Regions from separate parts of the Homo sapiens genome. Here regions 1, 2, 3, 5, 6 and 7 are each linked to region 4. Evidence: promoter capture Hi-C in 16 types of primary human blood cells and fetal thymus (Javierre and others, 2016). All regions are on one chromosome and are shown on one strand. The core of a region is centred on a gene start or on the middle of the fragment in contact, and the rest is flanking DNA. Distances in the headings are between cores, read along the strand shown. Region 1 overlaps CCDC142 (coiled-coil domain containing 142). Region 2 has its middle 8.9 kb from the start of C2orf81. Region 3 has its middle 5.6 kb from the start of SLC4A5. Region 4 holds the start of STAMBP (STAM binding protein). Region 5 has its middle 3.5 kb from the start of INO80B-WBP1. Region 6 overlaps RTKN (rhotekin). Region 7 overlaps DCTN1 (dynactin subunit 1).

Region 1 (2,707 bases), core at 152-2,651, 650 kb before region 4:
TTTTTTTTTTTTGAGAAGGTGTCTCACTCTGTCACCCAGGCTGGAGTGCAGTGGCGTGATCTCTACTCACTGCAACCTCCACCTCTCAGGTTCAAGTGATTCTCCTGCCTCAGCCTCCTGAGTGGCTGGGATTACAGGCGCCTGCCACCACGCCCAGCTAGTTTTTGTATTTTTAGTAGAGATGGGTTTCACCATGTTGGCCAGGCTGGTCTGGAACCCTTGACCTCAGGTGATCCACCCACCTCAGCCTCCCAAAGTGCTGGGATTATAGGTGTGAGCCACCACACCCGGCCAATGCCCAGCTACTTAAAAAAATTTTTTTTTTTGTAGAGACAAGGTTTTGCCATGTTGCCCAGGCTGGTCTTGAACCCTTTTTAAAAATCTTTTTAAAAAACTTTTTTGGGAGGCCAAGGTGGGTGGATCGCCTGAGGTCAGGAGTTCAAGACCAGCCTGCCCAACGTGGTGAAACCCCGTCTCTACTAAAAATACAAAAAAGTAGCCGGTATGGTGGCAGGTGCCTGTAATCCTAGCTACTTCTGAGGCTGAGGCAGGAGAATCGCTTGAACCTAGGAGGCGGAAGTTGCAGTGAGCCGAGATAGCGCCATTGCACTCCAGCCTGGGCAACAAGAACAAAAATTCTGTCTCAAAAAAAAAACAGAAAACAAAAAAATTTTTTGTCCAGGTGCAGTGGCTCACACCTGTAATCCCAGCACTTTGGGAAACCGAGGCAGGTGGATCATCTGAGGTTAGGAGATCAAGACCGGCCTGGCCAACATGGTGAAACCCTGTCTCTTCTAAAAATACAAAAATTAGCTGGACATTGTGGTGTACACCTGTAATCCCAGCTACTCGGGAGGCTGAGGCAGGAGAATCACTTGAATCCGGGAGGCGGAGGTTCCAGTGAGTCGAGAGCGTGCCATTGCATTCCAGCCTGGGCAACAGAGTGAGACTCAAAAAAAAAAAAGTATATATATATATTTTATTTATATTATATCTATATATATTTTATTTATATTATATCTATTTATATATATATATATTTTTTTTTTAATTAGAAGTTTGGCTCGTGACATAGCCCTCAGGAGATCTGAGAACATGTGCCCTGTTCTTGAACTCTTGAGCTCAAGCAATCCACCGCCTTGGCCTCCCAAAGTTCTGGGATTACAGGCATGAGCCTCCACACCCAGCCTGGCTCCCAGAGTTCTAGTTAAACATCTGCATTTGCCTGTTGGGCATTTCTACCTCAGTTTACTGCTGTCTACTTAAACTCAACATGCCCCAGAGCAGGCTCATCATGAGTACTGCACACAGTGACGGTCATAGAGCCCTGAGGAAGGAAGGCTATAGTGGGCATGTGGTTAAAGAACGCTCCATACATGGCCTATGGCTGGAGATGGTGGCTGGGAAGCCTCAGAGGAGTGGCTGGGGTTACTGGAAGTGGGCAGTTTGTAGATCCTTGTGGGGGTAGCAGAGAGGTGGCCTTACCAGAGCAGAGGTTCCTTTTGTGGGTATGTTCACTGGGGTTGGGTGTGGGGTAGGGTAGTAAGCAATTTGGCATCAAATTGTGGAGGGCATGAACACCAGCCCCAACAATTTGCGCTTTACCTCATAAGTGAGGGGGTGACATTTTAAGAGCAGAAGGGTGTAATCCCAGCATTTCGGGAGGCCGAGATGGGTGGATAACTTGAGGTCAGGAGTTTGTGACCAGCCTGGCCAACATGGTAAAACCCCATCTCTACTAAAAATACAAAAATTAGCCAGGCATGGTGACGGGTGCCTGTAATCCCAGCTGCTCAGAGGCTGAGGCATGAGAATCGGTTGAACCCAGGAGGCAGAGGTTGCAGTGATCTGAGATTGCGCAACTGCACTCCAGCCTGGGCAATAAGAGCGAAACTTGGTCTCAAAAAAAAAAAAAGAGGCATTGTGAGTTTTCTTCCTGTTTGGACTATAAGATCCCAGTGGGTGGGGGAGAGACTGTCACACACTCTGCACCTTGTATTCCCTCAGTGTTGAGTACAGAGGCTCCTAACAAAAGTCCGTTGACAAAAGGGCAATTTCCTTGACATAAATAAGGGAGGAGAAGGGGGCTTGCATTTACTGGAGAAGAGAGGAAGATTTTGGATTTAGACAGGTTGTCAGATGTGCCAGGAGCCATATGGGCTCCACTCCATGTCTGGCCGCCCCCAGGTCTATCCTGTCTTCAGGCTCCCTGGCATCTACCATTTCTTTACAGAGCAGCTGCCATTAACCACATTTACTGGGGTTCCTCTCCCTCAAGATGGGCTGTAGAGCAGAAACCAGCTTTATTGCTGTGTTCTCTCCCTCCAAAAACAACCTATCAAACCAAAGAAACAAACCCAGCATATAGGCCTTTTCTTGCTTTATGGGTTATATTGCTCTGGAGTGGGCTGTGAAGAATAATAATATATAATAATGCCTTTCAATGTAAGGACATTCCAAAACTTCCTGAGTCTCAGAACATTCAAATAGTCATTGCTTCTGGTTTACATACAGTTCTTGTCTTCCTTTTGTAGGTGATAACCAAAAGATCATTGTAGGCTGGGTGTAGTGGCTTAGTGGCTCACATCTGTAATCCCAGCACTTTGGCAGGCAGAGGCAGGCCGATCACCTGAGATCAGGAGTTTGAGACCAGCCTGACCAACATGGCAAAACCTTGTCTTTACTAAAAATACAAAAATTAGCTGGG
Region 2 (2,890 bases), core at 1-2,500, 580 kb before region 4:
CTCTCACTGAACCCCAAGGGGAGCAGTTATCCTGCAGGCCTAGAAGAAGATAGAACCAGGGTTCAGGAAATAACCCTCTCGCCACCCTTAGGAGACCCTGCATTAGGGCCAAAGCTGCCCCATTGCAGAGGCATTCTAGAGAAACCCCTGTCCCCCAAAGGAGTAGACATAAGGGCTGCCAGCGGGTCTGGCTCTGTAGAGAGAACTTCGAGTCTCCTTTCAGTAGGGGAGGAAGGAGAAGGCCCCGCATAAGCACAGAGTGATTCGAGATATGAAGAACTTGATTTCTTGCTTCCCTGGTCCCTGGAGCTTGGTCACTTCACCTTAGACTGCAAATCCAAATTTCACTTTTGAAGTTAAGGAGGAACTCTCAAACTCAAACAGTATATTGAACAAACTCAAGAGTCAGTGCCTCCTTAAATTTTATCTTAGGCTCCACACCTGCCTCATTGCTAGTCTCCACTCTGCCCAGATTTATCCTGCACCCACTTCCTCCTACAGCATTTCCCCAGCAGGCCCAGGAAGTTTCTGCTATGTTGCTGTGGGCTGCACTCAGCATCCTGGTCTGGGGCGCTGGCTCTGTCTTCCTTATTCTGGTCTTCTTCAACTACATGTGCAGCTCTGGCAGAAGTCTCATCCCTGGGACCTCCAGTGCTGCTCCACAGATCTGACTGGGAAAATAGCCATAGTGACTGGGGCCAACAGTGGTGAGTGCTCCTCCCACCCTGAATCCTCACTATGGGCCTCAGCCTCCAACAACTCTCACAGGGAAGGCAGGGAGGAGCATCCACTATCAACACCCTTGTCCCTCCCCTAGAGTGTCCCTTGTTCACTGTAGTCACCACCCAGCCGAAGTTGTCCTCCCACAGGCATCGGGAAGGTTGTATCCCAGGACCTAGCTCGGTGTGGGGCCCAAGTGATCCTTACTTGTCAGAGCAGGGAATGTGGACAGCAAGCCCTGGCTGAGATCCAAGCAGCCTCAAACAGCAACCGCCTCCTGCTTGGCGAGGTGGACCTTAGCTCCATGACCTCTATTCGGAGCTTTGCCCGGAGGCTTCTACAGGAGAATCCTGAGATACATCTGCTGGTAAACAATGCTGGAGTCAGTGGTATGTGCCTGGCTTGCTTCTCCAAACATGTTTCTGCAGTCTCCTTTCTAGCTCAGGAACTCTAAAACAGGTATCCTCAAAGCCTAGTCTATGCAATCTTGCCAAAACACTAATCCATACCCTCCCCTAAAAAGCTGACATTGAGTTATAGCCTTAAACTTCATTGCCCCCATCTTCACATGTATGTGCCCCTGTGGCATTTCTGCTGAAGGTAATATGTCCCTCCCAGACCTTGTCTCCCTCAAGGTGGTCCCTTTATCACTCAATGCCAGTGTTTTCATTTCCTCCCAGGATTCCGAAGACACTTACCCCAGGGGGCCTGGATCTCACCTTTGTCACTAACTATGTTGGGCCCTTTCTGCTCACAAATCTACTCCAAGGTAAGGAAGGATGGGCACCTTCTGTGCTGCCCTCTTCCCTATACCCCTGGCATTCTAGTAACTGTCTCCCAGGACCACCTCTTGCCTCTTGGCACCCAGCTGTTTGCTGAGTGGTGACCCAACACACTTTTTGTGTCACACATCAGGGAAGCCCAGCTGGCACAAGTCAGTATTAGAAGGCTGATAGAAGAATCATTCAGCCCAAAATATAATCAGCAAGGGGATATGAGATCCCAGACCTCCTTCTCCCATCCCCTAGTTCTAGCCAGACCAGTAGAGTAGTTTTTGCAATGAAGGCTTCTTGAGGGGGACACTAGGCACCAGAAACAGAGAAAGCAAGAAGACTCAGTTTCTGTTCTCAGGGTCGGCCAGAGGTGTAGGCCATACAGATGATACAGTTGATACATTACTGCCTTGGGCCTAAGTCCTTTGAAGAGGCCCTTTCTGATTGAGAAAGTTTGGCTCCTCCAGGGAAAGTTTCGGGGAGTGGGTGGCAGGAACATTCTCTCTGACATTTTCTCCTAGATTGTATAATAGCCCCTTTATTATTATTATTATTTTTTAATTACTCATCCCCTTGCAATGTGATAGCCTCCTTAAAAGAAAAGCAATTTTTCTTTTGGTCAGGTAATACATATCCAAAGTACAAAATTGAAAGTGTACAAAAGGATACAGAGGGTTTTTTTTTTTAAACTATTTTTCTCTTCTGGTACATAAGCCACCTGTTCCCCTCCTGAGAGGCAACTACTGTTGCCGGAGTCTCACGTATCCTTTAGCAGTCAACTAAATTAATCCCAATTGGAAAGTGAACAAAGGCAAAACTCTATGCACCTGCAAGTATGATTGTTTTTGTCCCTTTCCACAAATTGTAACATGTCACGACACTATCTGCATCTTGCTTAGTGACAGTTTCTTAAACTTCTTTCCTGTCTCATCTTCTCTAATCTATTCTCCCCACTGCCACATCGAGTAATCACCTTTCATCATGACACTTTCTTGCTTAAAATCCTTTGAAGGTAACCTCTCCTTTGTAGGATGAACTCTAAGCCCCTTCTCTACACTTAGAAGGCTGTGTGCTAGGCTGGGTGCAGTAGCTCATGCCTGTAATCCCAGCACTTTGAGAGGCTGAGGTGGGCAAATCACCTGAGGTTGGGAGTTTGAGACCGGCCTGATCAACATGGAGAAACCCCGTCTCTACTAAAAATACAAAATTAGCTGGGCGTGGTGGTGCATGCCTGTAATCCTAGCTACTCGGGAGGCTGAGGCAGGAGAATTGCTTGAACCCGAGAGGTGGAGGTTTCAGTGAGCCAAGACCGCGCCATTGCACTCCAGCCTGGGCAACAAGAGTGAAACTCTGTCTCAAAAAAAAAAAAAAAACCCTCTGCTGACTAAGAGCCTTGC
Region 3 (2,901 bases), core at 341-2,840, 520 kb before region 4:
TTCCTTAAAGCCCAGATCCAACCTGGGATGAGTGTTCATTTCAAGAGATCCTTTGGCCATCTCAGATACCTGTTTTATCCATTTAAGGTGCTTTTTCAGAAGTTATCAAAGTCAAAGGCATCACCCTCATCTGTGAAGCCAATGCCGATGAAAGCACTATACCTGCTCAGTGTCATCCTAGAACCACATTACAAAGTAGAAGCTGTAATCTTTCACTGTCTCAGCAGTGTCAGCGTATTGTTCTACTGGTGCCCGAGCAAAGAGCTCTCCTGATATTTTATACTTGAGTTGACATAGGCAGTCTTCCCTTTTGAAGACTAAGCAGGCTGGTCCACATTCCAGCCTGTAGCCATTGTTGGAGGCCTGGGGCAGAATCTAGTAGACATTGACACCAGCTAAGATAGGCTTGTACCGTGCCTTGGGCTGCCATCTTGGCTCTCTGCCCTTTGTGACCTCCAGATGACGTTGGGAGTAAATTGAGGCCTCCAGTCCAGTCTCTTGCTTAGAAACATCTCCTCCTCCTTCTCATCATCATCTCTTTCTCTCTTTCAGAGAAGGGCTTTGCTATGTTGCCAAGGCTGGAATGCAGTGGCCATTCACAGGCAGTCTAGGTTCGTTCTTGCTTGATTTTTCCTTATAATTTATTTGTTGAAAGAACTATTTCTCAGAATCTGGATTTTCTTAAAATGCATCCTCATGGTGTTAATAAGTTCCTCTGTCTTCTCCATTTTCTGTAAATTATTAGTTGGGTTTAGAGCAGTGATTTTCTGACTAACAGCATCAGCATCATCTGGGAATTGTAGGAAATGGTAATTCCTACTCATCCCAGAGAAGCTGGCCATAAAAGTCACCATCTTGGTGAGACCTAGCATCTCAATTCTGTGAAGTCACCCATTGAAAGAGATCAAAACAATTGGAGTGGAGAGGGGTGAAATATTGGATGAGGTAGTGGTTGGTCTCTTGATGGTATGGCATGCCTGTTATTTCTATGTTTTCATTTCATATCAATCAAAAATTGGGGTTTTTGCATAACAGATGGAATGCAAAAAAGAAAAAAAAAGGAGTGTTGAACTTATGGTTAAACAGTTAACTTAGCTGATTTAATGTACTTTAAAGACTACGTTATTACTAATGGTTTAGTGTTCCCTGCCCTTGACAGAGACACAAGGAGAAAAGTGTTCACTCTCCCTGAGTGCTTAGACTACTATTTGACCCTTTCTAGAAGACAAGGGAATTCAGATAGGGCAGACTGTCCTCCCTCAGAGATTGGAGTTTTAGTTACCTACATATTTGACAGCCAAAGACACTTGATTTGGAAAGATCCTTGGCTGGGCCCTCTAGCTGCAGCCATGGCTAGTTAAGTTTCCACAGAGAGTACAAGCCAGGCTTGCCTTGCCAGAAGAGACCCTTCTGATCTTTGTAGAAAAGATCAGCCCAGGACTGGCCATCTGGCAGGTAATCAGGACCTACTCAAACAATTGAGCAAGGAACAATAGGTGGAACTGAACCCTCATGAACTCATGGAGTAAACTCTAAGCCTCAGTGAACAAAATCTGAGATAAATCACTTGTAACTCATCTTGGTATTCCTTTGTAAAAAGCAAAAAGCAAAGGATAGACTATGCATTTGACAACATAGAACTGAAAACCTAGATATATATTTAAATTTAAAAAAATGTAAACACACATTTTAAGAAGTGAATTTTTAAAAACGCAAAAAGAAACACTTAGATTAACAAATGATAAAACATGACCACACCATTTTACAAAATTTTTATACTTTTTTTTTTTTGAGACAGAATCTCGCACTGTCGCCTAGGCTGGAGTGCAATGACGCAATCTCGGCTCACTGCAACCTCCGCCTCCCAGGTTCAGGTGATTCTCCTGCCTCAGCCTCCCAAGTAGCTGGGTTACAGGCTCACAACCACCACCCCCGGCTAATTTTTTGTATTTTTAGTAGAGATGGGGTTTCACTATGTTGGCCAGACTGATCTTGAACTCCTGACCTTGTGATCCACCCGCCTTGGCCTCCCAAAGTGCTGGGATTACAGGCGTGAGCCACTGCACCTGTCCAGTTTTTATACATATTAACATAGTGATATTGGAAATTCATTTTTCAGTGGAAAAAAAATGCTCTCTATTTTGGAAAGTAGGTAGTTGGGCTCCTGTTTTAAATGAAGACATGTTATCTGAAAAATTAACATGCTGTGTAAGTTCAGTGAGGAGGCAAGGGGAGTGAAGAAGGGTGAAGAGACCAGAACATACCCATTCCACTACCAGTGGACATTTGGGTTGCTTCCGAGTTCAGGTACCTCCAAACCATGCTATATAAATATCCTCCCTTGTTCATGTGCTTTGGCACGCATATGCAAAAGTTTCTGTAAGGAGTTAAATTGCTTCGTCATTCCTTATGAGTATTTTCATCTTTATTAAATATTGCCACATTGTTTTTGCAGAGTGGCTGTACTGGTTTACAGCCTCATCAGCAGGATAGGTCCCCTTGGCGGGATTCCAGTCTGCCCCTTTGGGGAGGAGGGTGTAGCAGGGAGAGAAATAAGGCTGGCAAGGAATGAGAAAGCCAGGCAGGAGAACACCATTAGTGCCAATCCAAGGAGTTCAGACTGTATTTGACTGCATTGGGAAGCTACTGGCAATTCTGGAACAGGGAACAAAATGCAAAAACAGGGTTTTGGGAAGGTTAGTCTTTAAAGCTGTCTCTTGGTTTGTGTTGGCAGTTGGTAGTGATAGTGGTGGGGTTGACTTAGGCCAGCAGCAGGACTCAAGCTCACAGGAGAGAGATCTGTAGGGTGACAGCACAAAGGGGACAGTGAGCACATCCCTGGGGGCAGAAAACCAGAGCATCCCAGATCTCCCAACTCTTATCCTTAAATAATCCAGTTAG
Region 4 (2,968 bases), core at 84-2,583:
GGAATTAATGCTCATAATTGTAACTCTGCTCACTAAACCACTATAGTCAATCTATAAAATCATTCATTCATCATTATCATGGCAAGAGACTTAAATCTTGAAAACAACCATTTACTCATCTTCATAGACTAAACACTGAATAACAAAAAGGCACGATGGTAACTTGCATTGCAAAAACCCCTGGTGTCCCAAAACTCCAGTAATTCTAGTCTTTCTAGATATAGTTGCTGTTAGAATCAGATTCCAAATTCCAACCAGATATCACCACTATCATCTCCAAAATAAAACTGGGCATTTGACACACATTGCATTACAGCAAACCCTAATCAGTATGCTCTAGAATACACAAACTACAGTAGAATAAATCTTGGAATTCAAGGCCCTGTGGCAACTGGCCCTCCCCAACAGAGATCTTTTGCTTCAGTCAGGATTCCAATCCGCCCAGGCATCCTCACATTTCAGTTTCATTTATCTATCCAGTTTTTCTTTTCTACTACAACTCTTCCCTCAGGGGTAGTCTTCTCTCAGCCAATTCCATCTTTAGGTCTCTTCAATATTCGGGTCACAATTCCTCCACAAACCTTCCCCTCTAAAACACCCTCACTAATAGCACAAAAGCCGTGAGGACTACTAGGGATGCAGAGATAGTCCATCTCTCACGAGGCCTCCTTAGGGACTCAGAAAGCCGCAAGCATATCTAAAACCTCCCCAAGTAATTAGTAAACCTAGTCCACGGCCCATGAAAGTTAACTGAAACAGAGGATGCTTGTTGCATCTCAGTACCTCTTGGGAGAGGTTCTTGTGGGTTAAGAAAGGAACCACCTCCCAAGGCCAGGAAGCGGCGCCGGTTACCACCTGGTTGAGCAATTCCAAAAAGGGGATGCAGCATCTGCAAATGAGGGGGAAAGGCGGCGTAAAGGACCGAGGGGGAAATACGAGGAGGAGAAAGGAAGTAGCAGGAATGAGCGGAGGGGGCGTATACAGTAGGGAGGGCTCTATCGACAACTGCTTGAGGAACCCTTCTTGAAGGCACTCAAGACGAACTTGCCAACCCCAGGCACAATCATCCAGGGTTTTCGGGATCTTTCAAATGCAGTAGGCGGGGAACCGCTGGGCCTGGCTGGTCAGGCGCCAGCCCGCGGAGACAGAAGCCGTCGGGTGCCTCGAGCGAGGCAGGCCGGGCAGGGGACTCGGGGAGAGTAGGCTGCAGGCCCCACACTCACGGCGGCCGATCCCCTTCAAAGTCCAACCACGCTCGGAGGCCCTGCCCCACCACGTTCCCGGGACCCTTCCCCACCTTTCCCCGCGGATGACACCCGGAGGTTCCGGAAACGTCACATCCGGCGCCCGCTCCGCCCACTCCCGTTCGTCTGTCTATTACATTCCCAGTGATTTAGGACTTGGAACGGAGAGCTAGTAGGTGGGGCTAGAATCGGCACCTGCGGAAAATCCGACCAATGAGGAGCGAACGACACAGCGGCCATCTTGGTAAAGGAAAAGGAACAAGGAAGAAAGTGGAACCAATTAGCAAGCTAAGGTTTGCTTTTAAAATTATTTTGATTTGGGGTAGTCCCTCATCACACTCACAATACTCCTGCATTTAAGGAGGGATTGCTGATCCCAGCACAACTGCAGACTTAGCTAAACTAACCAGGATTTATAAATTGGGGGACAGAAAGTCTTTCGAATGTATTTTTTAGCTTGTATTACATTCTACACAAAAATTGGTAGTCTTAGATATTAGGCAATATCTAAGACTAATTTTATTGCTTAGAAAAGAACATAAGTCTAACTTTTTTTTTTTTTAAGACAGGGTCTTGCGGTGTCACCCAGGCTGTCACAGGAGTGCAGTGGTGTGATCATAGCTCACTGTGGTCTCCAACTTCAGGGCTCAAGCGATCTTCTTGCCTCTGCCTCCCAAAGTACTGGGATTACTGGCGTGTGCCACCGCACCCAGATGAGACTAACGTTTTAATGTCAAAAAACCTATAAAATATTTGGAAAAAAAGCGTTTAATCTCTAAGAGCCGCTATGCAAAAGCAGTGGAGACACAAAAATCTGTATGACACTGTTCCTGCCCTGAGACCGGGACAAGGTGGTTTTATGCATCAAATACAGAATGGCACGTTCTGCATGTAGATGTGTGTCTGTACGAATCCATATACATCCTCTTTACAAAAAGGTCCTACAAGCTTGCTAATCATTCTGTCTCAGAAGACTTTGTGAAACATTAGGCTTTGGTTTAAAAGTCTAAGTCTCTGGGGGACACTTTCCCAAAATTTGGGAGCCTCCCTGTGAGTTTGTTAGTGTGATGGCATGACCTATTCTTCAAGGTCTAGCTTAAATCCCTAATTCAGGTGTTGCCTCCTCCACCTAGCCAGCCTCCAGATCTCTCATTTCTCCCAACCTCCGTTGTGTATATTTCTGTTGGAGTTACCTGAAGTGATTTTGTGTAGTCATCAACTTTTCAGACTTAGGGTTGAAAGTACTTGCTTGCATCATATCACCTCCCCTTCTGCCCCCAGCAAGCATTAATGTGCATGGGTCTACTATCAACTCTCATGGATCTACTGCAGATAAATCTGGGAAGATAATTGTATAGGGCACTCTACTGTGTCTTCAAAACTCTCTCTACTGACTCTCTTCAGAATGTAAACATGATGGGTTGGGCCTAAAGAAATTGATGCACTGGAGATGCTGGTCATTGGGTGGGCATTATAGTGCAGATGGGGTCCTGGCAGGAGGCAACACAGGTCAAAATCTGATCCATTCAACCTCTCACTCAGTAAATGTTTACTGAGTGTCTACTATGTGCCAGGTTCTGTTCTAGGTGTTAGGGATACATCAGCAAACAAACCCAGCAGGTGGATACTCTAATGGTGGAAGCACAGGTAGAAGTACAGCTGGTGGGGTAGGGAGGGGCATCTGCTCCCATTCAGCACAATCTCTAAAGTAGTTCTTTTTTTTA
Region 5 (2,803 bases), core at 223-2,722, 620 kb before region 4:
TACTCTTTTATCACCAGGAGTTACAGTGAGGGATCACTTGCAATTCATATTTGTAGAATACGTTAGAGTTTATAACCTGCCTATATATTCCTTCTCTCCCTTGGCCCCCACAGCATCTCCATAAGGGAGATACCATTGTTTCCATCTTATAAATGAGGAAACTGAGGCTCAGAAAAAGAAATGTTTTTGCCAAAGTCACAAAGTTAGGGAGTGGCAGAGCCAGACTCAAACAGAGGCTTCCTGACACCTGGCCCAGTGGTGTTTCCTCTGCATCATGATGCCCAGCAGGGAGGAAGTGGCAACAGTAAGTGACAACTGGCTTCATTATTTTGTTTGTTTTTAGTTTTGCTTTGTTTAGAGTGAGAGAGATTTGAGCATGTTTGTAGGCTGAGAGGCACTCTTCTTTCTGAAAGACTTCTTAGTCGTATTTTAAAAAATTATTTTGAAATAACTTCAAACAGAAAAATTGCAAGATGAATACAAAGAACTCTCTCTAATAAAGTTTTTGTTTCGTTTTGTTTTTGAGACAGGGTCTAGCTCTGTCTCCCAGGCTGGAATGCAGTGGCGCAAACACGGCTCACTGCAGCCTCAAACTCCCAGGCTTGAGTGATCCTCCCACCTCAGCCTCCCAAGTAGCTGGGACTACAGCTACACACCACCAAGCTTAGCTAATTCTTTTTTTTTTTTTTTTTTTTTTTTTTTTTTTTTTGTAGGGACAAGGTTTGGCCATGTTGCCCAGGCTGGTCTCAAACTCCTGAGCTCAAACGATCCTTCTGCCTCAGCCTCCCAAAGTGCTGGGATTACAGGTGTGAGTCACAGTGCCGGGCCAAAACTTTCTTATCTCCTTAAACATTCCATGTGTTTCAGGTTAACATGGAATGCCCGACATGGTTGGCGGGTGGGGCAGATTCTGAAATTTTTTTTTTTTTTTTTTTTGAGACGGAGTCTCGCTCTGTCACCCAGGCTGGAGTGTCGTGGTGCGATCTCGGCTCACTGCAAGCTCTGCCTCCCAGGTTCACGCCATTCTCTTGCCTCAGCCTCCCGAGTAGCTGGGACTACAGGCGCCCTCTACCACGCCTGGCTAATTTTTTGTATTTTTAGTAGAGACAAGGTTTCACTGTGTTACCCCAGATGGTCTTGATCTCCTGACCTTGTGATATGCCCGCCTCAGCCTCCCAAAGTGCTGGGATTACAGGTGTGAGCCACCGCGCCCGGCGAGATTCTGAAATTGTTAATATTTATCTGTGTTTATGCCCATTATCATTGTCAGTGAAAAGAGTCAAACTCTAAAATATTTGAAGAGATTTATTCAGAGCCAAATATGAGTGACCAATGGCCTGTGACACACCCCTCAAGAGATCCTGAGAACATGTGCCCAAAGTGGTCTGACTACAACTTGATTTTATACATTTTAGGGAGACATAAGACATCAATCAATACATGTAAGATGTACGTTGGTTTGGTCTGGAAAGGCAGGACAACTGGAAGATGGGGGCTTCCAGGTATTGTGTAGATGCAAAGGTTTTCTGATTGGCAATTGGTTGAAAGAGTTAAATTATTGGCTGGCTGTGGTGGCTCACACCTCTAATCCCAGCACTTTGGGAGGCCGAGGCGGGTGGATCACCTGAGGCCAGGAGTTTGAGACCAGCCTGGCCAACATGGTGAAACCCCATCTCAACTAAAAATACAAAAATTAGCTGGACATGGTGGCACATACCTGTAACCCCAGCTACTAGAGAGGCTGAGACAAGAGAATTGCTTGAACCCAGGAGGCAGAGTTTGCCGTGAGCTGACATCGAGCCATTGGACTCCAGCCTGGGCAAAAAGAGCAAAACTCCATCTCAAAAAAAGAAAAAAAAAGCGTTAAATTATTGTCTAGAGACTTGGAATCAATAGAAAGGAATGTCTGGTTGAGATAAGGGGTTGTGGAGACCAAGATTTTATCATTCAAGTGAAGCATCCAGGTAGCCAACTTCACAGAGAATACACTGTAAATGTTTCTTATCAGACTTAAAGAGTCTGTTATATCAGTAATTGCAAAAGGGAGGAGGGTATAACAAGGCATGTCCAGCTCCCCCTTTCCCATCATGGCCCATACTAGTTTTTCAGGTTAACATGGAATGGCCCAACATGGTTGGGGGACTCAGAATTTTATTTTTGGTTTACATCATTATTCTTTTTCTGATCAACATGATAGCAAGTTGCAGACATGATGTCATTTCACCCCTAAATCATGCAGTGTGTACTTCCCTCAAACAAGCACAGTTTTCTATAAGCTTTGTGCAACTGTCCCAATCAGGAAATTAACCTGATACATCATTAATCCAGACCCCATTCAAATTTCACCAACTGTGAAATACCTCCTTTTTCTTTTCTTTTTTTTGACACGGAGCCTTGCTCTGTTGCCCAGGCTGGAGTGCAGTGGCACAATCTCGGCTCACTGCAACCTCCACCTCCTGGGATCAAGCAATTCTCTGCCTCAGTCTCCTAAGTAGCTGGAATTACAGGCTCCTACTACCACCCCTAGCTAATTTTTGTATTTTTAGTACAGATGAGGTTTCACCGTGTTGGCCAGGCTGGTCTTGAACTCCTGACCTTGTGATCCACCTGCCTCAGCCTCCCAAAGCGCTGAGATCACAGGCATGAGCCACCGCGCCTGGCCTCGTTTTTTTTTTTTTTTTTTTTGAGACGTAGTTTTGCTCTTGTTGCCCAGGCTGGAGTGCAATGGTGCAATCTCCGCTCACCGCAACCTCCGCCTTGCGAGTTCAAGCAATTCTACTGCCTCAGCCTCCCAAGTAGCTGG
Region 6 (2,987 bases), core at 98-2,597, 610 kb before region 4:
GAGCATGGTTGTGCCATGACATGGCACTTATGGAGCAGCCATTAAAGTCATCATCTCTCACCTCCCAGCTGGATTTTAAATGTACAACCTTGGACAGTACAGGGATGCTCCAGTGTTGACTGAGTAAATGCTGCTACCACCAAAGTATAGCGTCATTAAAATAAGCATCCCTGCCATTAATGTATACCACATGCTGGGCACTGTGCTAAGTGCTTTAAGTTCCTGCCTCACAGAATTCTCACAGCCCTAGGACTATTTCCATTCCTGATTTACAGATGGGGAAACTGAGGCTTAGGGAGGTTGAGCAAATTGCCCATTGCTTTTTAAGAAGCAGGACCTCCAGGGCTCCTTTCTAAATGAATGTTCCTGAGAATCCTGGTGTCTCTTCCAGGGCCTCTCAGCTGGCCCTTATCCACAGTCCCTCATTCCTGGACCACCTACCTTCCCATCCCCATTCCTTGCCTCTGACCTCATCTCCCAAGCTCAGAGGGCCGGTAGGTGGTGATTCTCTTAATTTGGGGTGTATAGGTTTCTGTGCAGCGTCAGTGAACACTGTAGGTGGTATGCTCCTTGTCCACTGATCCCTTGCCAACTAGATGTCCCTGGCATCACTTGAGTCTGAGGGATAACTCTCATTTGCCTTTCCTTCTGTCCATTCCCATGAGTTGGTGGTTCTCAACCTGGGTGTACCTCAGAATCACTTGGGGAGTTTTCCAAAAGTACATATGCCCCACTCCTAGAGATTCTTATTCTGCAAATCTTAGGTAGGGCCTGATCATTTTTTTTTAAACTCCAAAGATCTAATATTTTTTAAAGGAAATACAATTTCCAGTAGTACAAAGGGTATATATAAAGTATCATTAGGCTGGGCGCAGTGGCTCAAGCCTGTAATCCCGCACTTTGGGAGGCCGAGGTGGGAGGATCACTTGAGGCCAGGAGTTCGAGACTAGTCTGGCCAACATGGCGAAACCCTGTCTCTACTAAGAATACAAAAGTTAGGCCAGGCATGGTGTCTCACACCTGCAATCCCAGCACTTTGGGAGGCCAAGGCGGGTGGATCACCTGAGGTCGGGAGTTTGAGACCAGCCTGGCCAACATGGTGCAACCCCGTCTCTACTAAAAATACAAAAATTAGCTGGGTGTGGTGGCTCACACCTGTAATCCCAGCTACTCCGGAGGCTAGGCAGAAGAATTGCTTGAACCTGGGAGGCGGAGTTTGCAGTGAGCCGAGATCATGCCACTTCACTCCAGCCTGGGCAACAGAGTAAGACTCGGTCTCAAAAAAAAAAAAAAAAAAGAATACAAAACTTACTCGGGCGTGGTGGCACATGCCTGTAATCTCAGCTACTCAGGAGGCTGAGGCACAAGAATCACTTGAACCTGGAAGGTGGAAGTTGCAGTGAGCTGAGATCGCGCCACTGTACTCCAGCTTGGGTGACAGAGTGAGACTCGGTCTCAAAAAAAAAAAAGTATCATAAATGTTTTCCATCCCTGGCTCCCAGGCCTACAATCACTAATATTTTATGCATAAACATGCATATCTATATCTATGTATATATATGCATGCATACATATATATATATCATGCACAAATGGTAGTATGTGCAATACTACCCTTCTTTTCTCACATCATTTATTTTGGAGATTGTTTCATATCTGCATACATGTGCATATCTCTTTCCTTAATGTCTGCAATACTACAGGGTACAGATGTACTGTTACTTATTTAACCAATGTCCTACTGAAGGGGTTTTAATTTTGGTGTTTAAAACAATGCCACAATGAGGCCGGGCGCGGTGGCTCACGCCTGTAATCCCAGCACTTTGGGAGGCCGAGGTGGGCGGATCACAAGGTCAGGAGATCGAGACCATCCCGGTTAACACTGTGAAACCCCGTCTCTACTAAAAATACAAAAAAACAATTAGCCGGATGTGGTGGCGGGCGCCTGTAGTCCCAGCTACTTGGGAGGCTGAGGCAGGAGAATGGCATGAACCCCAGGAGGTGGAGCTTGCAGTGAACTGAGATCGTACCACTGCACTCCAGCTTGGGCAACAGAGCGAGACTCCGTCTCAAAAAAAAAAAAAAATGCCGCACTGAATATTTTTGTATGTATGGCTTTACCTAGATATATGTGAAATTATATGTGTAAGATAAACTGCTAGGTATTGGATAGCTGAATTAAAGGATATATGAATTTGTAGTTTTCATAGATTTTTTTCCAAATTGCACTCAAAAGAGGCTGAAGGAATTTATACTTCCAACCATCAAATGCATGAGGGCATCTCTATTTTTCTTATTTGTTTTATATATATATATATATGTTTTTTTTTTTTTTGAGCCAGAGTCTTGCTCTGTCGTCCAGGCTGGGGTGCAGTGGTGCAGTCTCGGCTCACTGCAAGCTCCGCCTCCCGGGTTCATGCCATTCTCCTGCCTCAGCCTCCCAAGTAGCTGGGACTACAGGCGCCCGCCACCACGCCCTGCTAATTTTTTGTATTTTTAGTAGAGACGGGGTTTCACCGTGTTAGCCGGGATGGTCTCGATCTCCTGGCCTTGTGATCCGCCTGCCTCTGCCTCCCAAAGTGCTGGGATTACAGGCGTGAGCCACCGTGCCCGGCTGTTATATATTTTTTTAGAGGTGGGGTCTCACTATGTTGCCCAGGCTGGCCTTGATCTCCTAGGCTCAAGGGATCCTCCCACCTCAGCCTCCCTCACACACCACTGCACCTGGCTACAAAGCTTCTCTGGTTATTCGTGGGCAGCTGAGATTGAGACCCAATGCCTGCTCTTGAACTGCCTAAAACATTAGTTTCTTGTCAGTTTTACTGGCCACAGCCCACCTGGGGACTGGGGAGTGCTTTAGCCTGTCCACTGACTGACATTTCCTTCTCACCCTTCCCCCAACCCTGGCTAGGACACGGAGTTGCAGAGGAAGCTAGACCATGAGATCCGGATGAGGGAAGGGGCCTGTAAGCTGCTGGCAGCCTGCT
Region 7 (2,945 bases), core at 438-2,937, 540 kb before region 4:
CTCCTCTGCCCACCTTCTCCCCTGCCCCACAGGGGCATGGATAGTGTTGCCAGATCGGGGGAGATGACGAAGAGTTGTTTCAAGGGGGAGTCTAGGGGTACAACTTTCACCTTGGCCCTTTTACCTGCAGGGTCCTCTGAAATAGACTGAGAGAGGGAGATTCAGCTTGACTCCCAAAGAGGGCTTAGCAGGGGTAGAGAGCCTGGCACCCCCACTTTTGGCCCAACCTTCTGTGGAAATTAGATTGTACTTTTTCCGTCTAGGGGTGGAGGGCATAGACCTGGAGCAAGGATGGGACTGAGAGTATAATGGAGTTGCTAGAATGATCACAAGTGGGTCATAGATGGGGGTTCTAGGGAATAACGGATTCTGCTCTTAAGGGTAGTGCCAGAGCTAGGAGGAATGTGGAGTCAGTGCCAAGCGAGGAGCCTTATAATCTTATGTCTTTCTCTTATCTTTTCCTCCCTCTCTCCTCTGCCTCCATCCTCCCCCTGTCCTTTGTCACTATCTCTCTCTGCCTCTCTGTATCATTTTCCTTGTCCCCTTCATTCTTCTTTTCTCACTGTGCTTTGATACTCTCTTTCTGCTTTTTCCCTTTTCTGTCTCCTTCCCTTGCCATATTCTCATATTCTGTTTCTGTTCCTCTTACTACCCCTATCCTCTGCTTTCTTTCTGGTCTGCCTCTACCCTTTCTGAATAGCCCACGCGCCCAGCCAGTACTGGGGTGGCTGGGGCCAGTAGCTCCCTGGGCCCCTCTGGCTCAGCGTCAGCAGGTGAGCTGAGCAGCAGTGAGCCCAGCACCCCGGCTCAGACTCCGCTGGCAGCACCCATCATCCCCACGCCGGTCCTCACCTCTCCTGGAGCAGTCCCCCCGCTTCCTTCCCCATCCAAGGTAAGGCCTGGGGTAGGGGTAAAGGAGAATCAAGACACCCAGAGGCTTGTGGCTACCCGCTGTGTCTTGAAAATTTCCTGGGGTTGGCAAAGACCTAGAACTTGGATCAGAAAGGGTGAGGACATAGCCTATGGATATCTTGCTACTGACTGAGCCATCCTTTCCTTTCTTGCCCTTATGCCATACTTTCCCCATATATACTGTGCTACGGTTTCCTCTCAGATGTTCTTATGCCACTGACTGTTGGCCACCCTGGGGCTGGGTGATGTTTGCACACTTTCTTGTGTTCTTTGCGCCAGCTCAGTGTTGGTGGAGAGGAGGAGTGGGCTGTGCACAGACCGTGAGGCCTCTCCTTTGCAGGAGGAGGAGGGACTAAGGGCTCAGGTGCGGGACCTGGAGGAGAAACTAGAGACCCTGAGACTGAAACGGGCAGAAGACAAAGCAAAGCTAAAAGAGCTGGAGAAACACAAAATCCAGCTGGAGCAGGTGCAGGAATGGAAGAGCAAAATGCAGGAGCAGCAGGCCGACCTGCAGCGGCGCCTCAAGGAGGCGAGAAAGGTTTGACTCTGGATGAAGGGGGTGGCTGGGGCAGCCTGAGACCTAAGGAAGCATGCTGGAAACTAGACTGGAGCTGGAGCCTGGAACATACTGTGAGAAAGGCCTGGGGCATCTCTGTGCTGGTACCCCCTCCCACCTCCACTTCTTCCTCAGGAAGCCAAGGAGGCGCTGGAGGCAAAGGAACGCTATATGGAGGAGATGGCTGATACTGCTGATGCCATTGAGATGGCCACTTTGGACAAGGAGATGGCTGAAGAGCGGGCTGAGTCCCTGCAGCAGGAGGTGGAGGCACTGAAGGAGCGGGTGGACGAGCTCACTACTGACTTAGAGATCCTCAAGGCTGAGATTGAAGAGAAGGGTAAGGGGCCCACAGCTGCTGGGGGCCAAACGGTCAGGTGAGAACCATGCCTGAAAGTGTTAATGATCTTCTCCAGGCTCAGATGGCGCTGCATCCAGTTATCAGCTCAAGCAGCTTGAGGAGCAGAATGCCCGCCTGAAGGATGCCCTGGTGAGGTAGGGTCTTCAGTGCTTGCCTCTGATGCTTACTCTTGTGTCTCCAAATGTGTTAGAGCACCCATCGCCAGAGACTCTGACACGTGCTTTCCTCCTTCTGCCTTCCTCACATCCCTGCAGGATGCGGGATCTTTCTTCCTCAGAGAAGCAGGAGCATGTGAAGCTCCAGAAGCTCATGGAAAAGAAGAACCAAGAGCTGGAAGTTGTGAGGCAACAGCGGGAGCGTCTGCAGGAGGAGCTAAGCCAGGCAGAGAGCACCATTGATGAGCTCAAGGAGCAGGTCTGGGGAGCCCAGCCCCTCACCCAGAATCCCCCACCTGACTCTCCTATCAGTTGATGCCTCCTCTTTCTAGGTACCTTCCAGCAGCCCTTCTCCCTATCCTCCCCGTAACACAGGTGGATGCTGCTCTGGGTGCTGAGGAGATGGTGGAGATGCTGACAGATCGGAACCTGAATCTGGAAGAGAAAGTGCGCGAGTTGAGGGAGACTGTGGGAGACTTGGTAAGAGAAGAGCAGACCCCTGACATCTGACTTGGACCTGCTGAGAAAAAGATTGACATGTGACCCTTGGCCTTTGAGCAGGGTGTGCGGTGAGGGACCCAGCCTGGGCTTGCTACCCTGACCCTGCCTTTTTTTTTTTTTTTTTTTTCTGAGATGGAATCTCGCTCTGTTGCCAGGCTGGAGCGCAGTGGCGCAATAATCTCGGCTCACTGCAACCTCCGCCTCCCAGGTTCAAGCGATTCTCCTGCCTCAGCCTCCCGAGTAGCTGGTACTACAGGCATGCGCCACCATACCCAGCTAATTTTTGTATTTTTAGTAGAGATGGGGTTTCACCATGTTGGCCAGCATGATCTCGATCTCGACCTCATGATCCGCCTGCTTTGACCTCCCAAAGTGCTGGGATTACAGGTGTGAACCACCGCCGCTGGCCGACCCTGCCTTTCTTTAGCCCAAACTATGGTGTGGTGTCCTAGGAAGCGAT

What was found. Contacts are between HindIII fragments. The CHiCAGO score rates a contact against its expected background, and 5 or more counts as called.
Region 1: a contact is called between a fragment that was not itself captured here and the fragment with the promoter of STAMBP in region 4, in 8 of 17 cell types (non-activated CD4 T cells, activated CD4 T cells, total CD4 T cells and 5 more). The highest score is 7.8, in non-activated CD4 T cells.
Region 2: a fragment that was not itself captured here is called in contact with the fragment with the promoter of STAMBP in region 4 in 12 of 17 cell types (non-activated CD4 T cells, total CD8 T cells, total B cells and 9 more); the score reaches 10.2 in non-activated CD4 T cells.
Region 3: a contact is called between a fragment that was not itself captured here and the fragment with the promoter of STAMBP in region 4, in 1 of 17 cell types (total B cells). The highest score is 5.4, in total B cells.
Region 5: a fragment that was not itself captured here is called in contact with the fragment with the promoter of STAMBP in region 4 in 1 of 17 cell types (fetal thymus); the score reaches 7.1 in fetal thymus.
Region 6: a fragment that was not itself captured here is called in contact with the fragment with the promoter of STAMBP in region 4 in 1 of 17 cell types (naive CD8 T cells); the score reaches 5.4 in naive CD8 T cells.
Region 7: a fragment that was not itself captured here is called in contact with the fragment with the promoter of STAMBP in region 4 in 10 of 17 cell types (naive CD8 T cells, total B cells, non-activated CD4 T cells and 7 more); the score reaches 9.4 in naive CD8 T cells.

Annotation. Positions count from the first base shown.
Region 1 is chr2:74,476,331-74,479,037 of GRCh38, reverse strand. The region is part of intron 5 of CCDC142 (coiled-coil domain containing 142); the gene reads left to right. Among named protein-coding and RNA genes, the nearest start is that of MRPL53, 5.0 kb to the right of the region's middle. The HindIII fragment of the contact is 6,387 bases long and covers 1-2,707 here.
Region 2 is chr2:74,411,247-74,414,136 of GRCh38, reverse strand. No RefSeq gene overlaps it. Among named protein-coding and RNA genes, the nearest start is that of C2orf81, 8.9 kb to the left of the region's middle. The HindIII fragment of the contact is 6,860 bases long and covers 1-2,890 here.
Region 3 is chr2:74,347,560-74,350,460 of GRCh38, reverse strand. It overlaps the pseudogene NECAP1P2. Among named protein-coding and RNA genes, the nearest start is that of SLC4A5, 5.6 kb to the right of the region's middle. The HindIII fragment of the contact is 7,558 bases long and covers 1-2,901 here.
Region 4 is chr2:73,827,326-73,830,293 of GRCh38, reverse strand. It overlaps STAMBP (STAM binding protein), which reads right to left and starts at 1,333. Exons shown (of 10, transcript NM_213622.4): 1 at 784-1,333. LOC105374807 (a long non-coding RNA gene) reads left to right here. Exons shown (of 3, transcript XR_940246.3): 2 at 1,390-1,537. RefSeq lists a silencer at 1,344-1,562. The HindIII fragment of the contact is 5,447 bases long and covers 1-2,194 here.
Region 5 is chr2:74,450,121-74,452,923 of GRCh38, reverse strand. No RefSeq gene overlaps it. Among named protein-coding and RNA genes, the nearest start is that of INO80B-WBP1, 3.5 kb to the left of the region's middle. The HindIII fragment of the contact is 1,613 bases long and covers 666-2,278 here.
Region 6 is chr2:74,432,591-74,435,577 of GRCh38, reverse strand. RTKN (rhotekin) reads left to right here. Exons shown (of 12, transcript NM_001015055.2): 2 at 2,912-2,987. Among named protein-coding and RNA genes, the nearest start is that of RTKN, 7.9 kb to the left of the region's middle. The HindIII fragment of the contact is 2,783 bases long and covers 1-2,738 here.
Region 7 is chr2:74,369,484-74,372,428 of GRCh38, reverse strand. DCTN1 (dynactin subunit 1) reads left to right here. Exons shown (of 32, transcript NM_004082.5): 8 at 701-892; 9 at 1,253-1,450; 10 at 1,604-1,808; 11 at 1,885-1,963; 12 at 2,084-2,243; 13 at 2,360-2,464; 14 at 2,938-2,945. Among named protein-coding and RNA genes, the nearest start is that of DCTN1, 9.4 kb to the left of the region's middle. The HindIII fragment of the contact is 6,181 bases long and covers 1-2,945 here.